Linked DNA regions of Homo sapiens: region 1 is linked to region 2. Evidence: promoter capture Hi-C in human tissues and cell types (Jung and others, 2019). All regions are on one chromosome and are shown on one strand. The core of a region is centred on a gene start or on the middle of the fragment in contact, and the rest is flanking DNA. Distances in the headings are between cores, read along the strand shown. Region 1 overlaps KBTBD11 (kelch repeat and BTB domain containing 11). Region 2 holds the start of ARHGEF10 (Rho guanine nucleotide exchange factor 10).

Region 1 (2,700 bases), core at 161-2,660, 150 kb after region 2:
AGCAACAACCTCGTGTGTGCAGATTTATGGTAACTGGCATTGCAATGCTCCCATCAGGGCATAACTAAGTAAAAATTGTAATGAGGTAAAGCCTTTGAACTTTCCATGTCAGTTGCACAGGCATTGCTGGCCATAGCATTGGACAGCACATAATAAAATCAGTTAAAAGATGTTGCTTACATTATAGTGATGTGTAGCACAGCCACGTTCGGATCAATTACAGACCGCCAAGTTGACGGTGGTCCTGTAAGATTATAAAACTGTTTTCCCTGTGTCTTTTTCATGCTTAGAAATGTGTAGATACACAAACACCATTGTGTTACAATTGCCTGCGGTATTGTGCACGCTGCACAGGTGTGCAGTCTGGAGCAGGAGTCTGTGCAGTGGAGCACAGGTGTGTAGCAGGCTGCACCGCCTAGGTGTGTAGGTGCCCTGTGTGATGTTTGCACAGTGATGAAGTTATCTAACTATCATTTCTCAGAACCTGTCTGCATCTGAACCATTCGTGACTGTATTTAAGCCAGCATTGGGCTTGGGAGGAGGGGAGAAAGCTTAAATGTTGTGGCTCTGAGACTAAAGAAATTCCCAGGGAGCAGGACTCTGTGTTGACTGATGTCTGGGCCTAACTTGAACCTCAGAGCACCTTGCTCTGGGTGGATGGAAGAATCCGGAAAGGTGGTTTGGAGCTTATCGCATCATTTGTAAACTCCAATACAAACCCGCTTCAATGGGGTTTCCATATGTTCCGGTACAGGTAGCAACCTTGGCAGTGGGAGCCCAGCAGGTCCCGTCTTTGTCCCTGTGCTGATACAGAGAGACTCTCCGTGCTGTGGACGCCTCCATCTGGGCACATGTTTCAGTTGTTTTCTAAATACCAAGAGCACAGATTGCTCAGTAATAATAGCTCTCCTGCAAATCTGGAATCACTTAGGCAGCTGCAGTGCCTCTAAGCCTCCTTGCATCCAAGGCTGTGATCAAGGAGGACTGGTGTCTGAGTGGGCTTGAGAAGGGCCCGGAGAACAGCGGGTTTCCTGATCACAAATCAGCCTGTCATTCAGCATGTGTTCCCTTGGTGACTCAGGGCGATATCTGCCCTTCTCCGGAGGTCAAGGGCTCATCGTGTCAATTGTGGTCTTGAGTTTGTTTTTTTTTTCCTCTTGAAATCATTGTAATTAAGCTAAAAGTATAGTGTTGGTATCCAGCACATGTTTGCAAAGTATTTAACAATGAGCAAAAACTTTAAGAATAAATTAAAGCATCTAGTTTACTTTTTGCCAACAGCCAGGTTCCTGCTAGAAATGATTTTGAAATAAATGTTGTCTTGGAAATAGAAACCGTTGCATGTCTTATGTGCATTTTGTTTGAAGGATTAGCATGAATTTCCTTCTCTTCTGAATATTTGTGGAGTTCCCCTGCTCCCCCACCCCCCACCCTGCTGTGGGTCAGGCTCAGTCCTAGGTGCTGGGAATACAGTTGTAAGTAAAGTCAGCCTAGTTCTCTGCTATCTGCAGCTGAGACGTTAATACAGTGAAAGGCATTCAGCATATAATTACGTTAATTCTTAGGTAATAACACACGGAGATGAGTGCGTTGAAGGAGAGGAATACATTCCCTTGAATGCACGTAACAGAGGAATGTTAGGCCGAGAACTAAGGGATGAGAGGGGTGGCTCAGGAGCCCAGGAGGGGACAGTTTGCGGGAACATTGTGTGCAAAGGCCCTGTGGTGAGGACTAGAGCACGGAGAGGTCAGTGAGGGGCGCTGGAGCAGGGTGTAGTAAAAGTGTAATGTCAGCCGATTTTATGGCTGAGTTAAATTGATGGAGCTTCACACTTTAGAGCAAGGTCCTCCAACCCATGGGCCACGAGCCACATGTGGCCCAGGACAGCTTTGAATGAGGCCCAACACAGATTTGTAAACTTTCTTAAAACATTATGAGTTTTTTTTTTTTTTAAGCTCATCATCTATCATTAGTGTTAGTCTATTTTATGTGTGACCCAAGACAATTCTTCCAGTGTGGCCCACGGAAGCCAAAAGATTGGAGACCCCTGCTTTAGAGCTTGACTGAGTTTCATATGGATTAATTTTGTAGCATGGAGACTTCCCGAGTCCTAAAGTGAAATCATTAAATAGGAAGATGCACATAGAATGTTTTGTAAATGAAAAACCACGGTGCCGATGTTAGCTGGTATTGTTACTGTTTTATTAGAAAGGTGTAGAGTCGTGGGGACATACATATGGGTGTGGTTCTATGAAGTGTACCATCTTTGTCCTGGCCACCTCCATCTCATGCTTGGACTCCTGCAGTAGTCTCTGGAGAGGCTCTGCACATCCTCTCTTTGAACAGGTCCTCCTGCAGTAGTCAGAACAATGATTTTTATTATTATTATTATATTTTGAGATGGAGTCTGGCTCTGTCATCCAGGCTGGAATCCAGTGGCACCATGTCAGCTCACGGCAACCTCCGCCTCCAGGGTTCAAGCAATTCTCATGTCTCAGTCTCTCGAGTAGCTGGGATTACAGGCGCCCTCCAGCACACCCAACTTATTTATTTATTTTTTTTTGTAGTTTTAGTAGAGATGGGGTCTCAGCATGTTAGCCAGGCTGGTCTCGAACTCCTGGCCTCAAGTGATCTTCCTGCCTTGGCCTCCCAAAGTGCTGGGATTACAGGCATGAACCACCACTCCCAGCTCAGAGCAAT
Region 2 (2,700 bases), core at 127-2,626:
GGAATAGAAACCTGAAATAAGTTTTCTAATCTTAAGGTCGCTGAGAGCAAATACCTTTTTCAATTGATTCATAAAAACAACTCAGTCTGATTTCATAAAATTAGCAAGTGTGAATAATAAACATTGAAAAAATATCACCTTACCTACGATTATTTTTTCCAGCCATTGTAGTCTTTCTATGTTGGCTATGATTTTTACATAGTCCAAAATTTTCAGGGAAATAACTTATTCCAGAGCACACAAGCCTTAAGGGCAGTTAATGTTTAGATTAATTTCGTGATACTTAGCATCCCAAATAGCTGTTTGTATTTCTTCTATAAAACAAGTGAAAGGGGCTAGAAATCTCTAAGAAGTCTGACAGTTCTAAAACACTGACTTAAAATTACTTCTATGATTCGGAGATTTGGGTAGGAGAAGGCATAGAAATAAATCTAGCATCTGCGAACACACTTGTTAAATGTGCTGACCAGGTAAAAGATAACATCCTTTAGTTATTTTGGTTAAAAATGTCTTTGTTTCTCGTTTTTTTTTTTCTTTAATAGTAATTATAACGATAATCTGTTTCCTTTTTAAAAGTATAAGACAAATAAATGCTCAAAGTAAACAATTCCAATAACTCAGAAGGGGCCATTCCCTGGAAAGGTCCCGGGAAAAACGAGCGCTTCCTGGCAAGAAGCAAGCTTCAAAAACTGCCTCGGAAACGTGGCTGAAGTCATCGCATTTCCAAACGCCCAAGCCTTGGCTGGTCCAGGGCAGCTGGCGCGGAAGACCCGGAACGCCCTGTGGGCAGGGCCAGCTGCGGACGGAGGGACGGGGGCTCAAGGGCGGGTCGGGTGGGGTCCCGACGCCCCCTCCTCGGCTGGGCGCACCCCGGGTGTCCGCAGGGAGGGGCGATGTTCTGGGGGGGGGAGCGTCTGCCCGACGCCCCCTCCCTCAGGTGAGCTCAGCCCGTGGGGGTCCGCAGAAAGGGCGGTGCTCTGGGAGAGGGTTAGGGTCTGCCCGGCGCACCCTCCCCAAGGGGCGCAGCTCTGAGCCGGGAGCAGGCTCTGCGGGGAGGATCCAGATGTTGGGGGCGGGGAGGGCACTCGGTCTGCCCAGCGACCCCTCCCGAAGTGAGCGCGGCCCGGGGTCCGCGGGGCAGGAGATGATCCGGGGGCGGGAGCCTCTGCCGCGCGCCCCCTCCCACGCGTGCGCAGCCTGGGCCGGGCGTTGGGCAGCGGGAGGGGGCGCGGGCGGCCACGTGGCCTCGAAGGAATGCGCGGGCGCGAGGGCAGGGCGCTGCCGAGAAACCGGCAGGCTCTGCGGCCAATGGGCGCCCGGAACGGTCTGGGCCCGCCAATGACAGCATGGTGGGTGGAGCAGGCCGTCCGGGCGGGAGGGGCTGGGCGCATCCCTGTAGCCGGCGGGCGCGCGATCCGGGACGGACGGGGTCGCGGGGGACGCGGGGGACGCGGGGGACGGCGGGGAACGGCGGGGGACGGCGGGGAACAGCGGGGGACGGCGGGGAACAGCGGGGGACGGCGGGGAACAGCAGGGGACTGCGGGTCGCGTCCTGGCCGCCGAGGTGAGTGCGGGCCCCGCGGACCGTGGGTCCCCTCGCGGGCTTCTGGTTTCCTTTGAGAGTTGCACTTCTGCCCGGCTCCCCCGAAATCGCTGGGTCCCACCCGGAGGTGGCTGCGCCCCCGACCCCCTGCGCAGATGTTTCAGGGAAGGGGCTGAGACCCCCTCCCCCCGAGCAGCTCCCCCTTCCGCGGCGCCCCCGGCCCCTCAGGATAACGGCGCGGGCCTGGGCGGGGGGAGCAGGGACTGGCAGCAGGGACCCCTGGCCCCAGGGGCAGGAGCGAACTCCGATCGGCGGAAGGAGCCCGAGGGGCGAGCTGGCTTCGCCTGGGGGGTCGTGCAGTAACTTAGATTTTCCGGTAAAGGAGAAGAATGCGGTCCGCCTCAGGATGCAGAGAAGGACCGGTGTAAGGAAAGCCGGCGTCTTTCCCCCGCACCCTACCTGTCCCCCTACCCCACCAGTTCCCCGCACCCCGTGTACCCCGCCTGTCCCTCAGCACCCCCTGTTCACTCTGCACTCCACCAGTTCCCCGCACCCCAGCTGTCCCCCCGCACCCCACCTGTTTACCCTGCACCCCAGCTGTCCCCCGCGCCGCAGCTGTCCCCCCCACACCCCACCTATTCCCCCGCACCCCGCCTGTCCCCCCGCACCCTACCTGTTTATTCTGCACCCCACCTGTCCCCTCGCACCCCACCTGTTCCCCCTGCACCCCACCTGTCTTCCCCACACCCCACCTGTTTACTCTGCACCCCAGCTGTCCCCCCACACCCCACCAGTTCCCCGCACCCCGTGTACCCCGCCTGTCCCTCAGCACCCCATGTTAACTCTGCACTCCACCAGTTCCCCGCACCCCACCTGTCCCCTCGCACCCCACCTGTCCTCCCCACACCCCACCTGTTTACTCTGCACCCCAGCTGTCCCCCCACACCCCACCTGTTCACCCGCACTCCACCTGTCCCCCCGCACTCCACCTGTCCCCCCGCACCCCACCTGTCCCCCCTGCACCTCACCTGTCCCCCCGCACCCCACCTGTCCCCCCGCACCCCACCTGTCCCCCCGCACTCCACCTGTCCCCCCGCACCCCACCTGTCCCCCCGCACCCCACCTGTCCCCCCGCACCCCACCTGTCCCCCGCACCC

Evidence for each region. The method cuts DNA at HindIII sites, captures the fragments that hold promoters and counts their contacts. A contact is called where the count stands out against the background at its distance.
Region 1: a contact is called between a fragment that was not itself captured here and the fragment with the promoter of ARHGEF10 in region 2, in 2 of the 25 tissues and cell types used here (IMR-90 fibroblasts and neural progenitor cells).

What each region holds. Positions count from the first base shown.
Region 1 is chr8:1,975,145-1,977,844 of GRCh38, forward strand. The region is part of intron 1 of KBTBD11 (kelch repeat and BTB domain containing 11); the gene reads left to right. KBTBD11-OT1 (KBTBD11 overlapping transcript 1) reads left to right here. Exons shown (of 3, transcript NR_126346.1): 3 at 755-1,300. Among named protein-coding and RNA genes, the nearest start is that of KBTBD11, 2.8 kb to the left of the region's middle. The HindIII fragment of the contact is 5,247 bases long and covers 1-2,700 here.
Region 2 is chr8:1,822,550-1,825,249 of GRCh38, forward strand. ARHGEF10 (Rho guanine nucleotide exchange factor 10) reads left to right here and starts at 1,377. Exons shown (of 29, transcript NM_014629.4): 1 at 1,377-1,564. The HindIII fragment of the contact is 19,596 bases long and covers 1-2,700 here.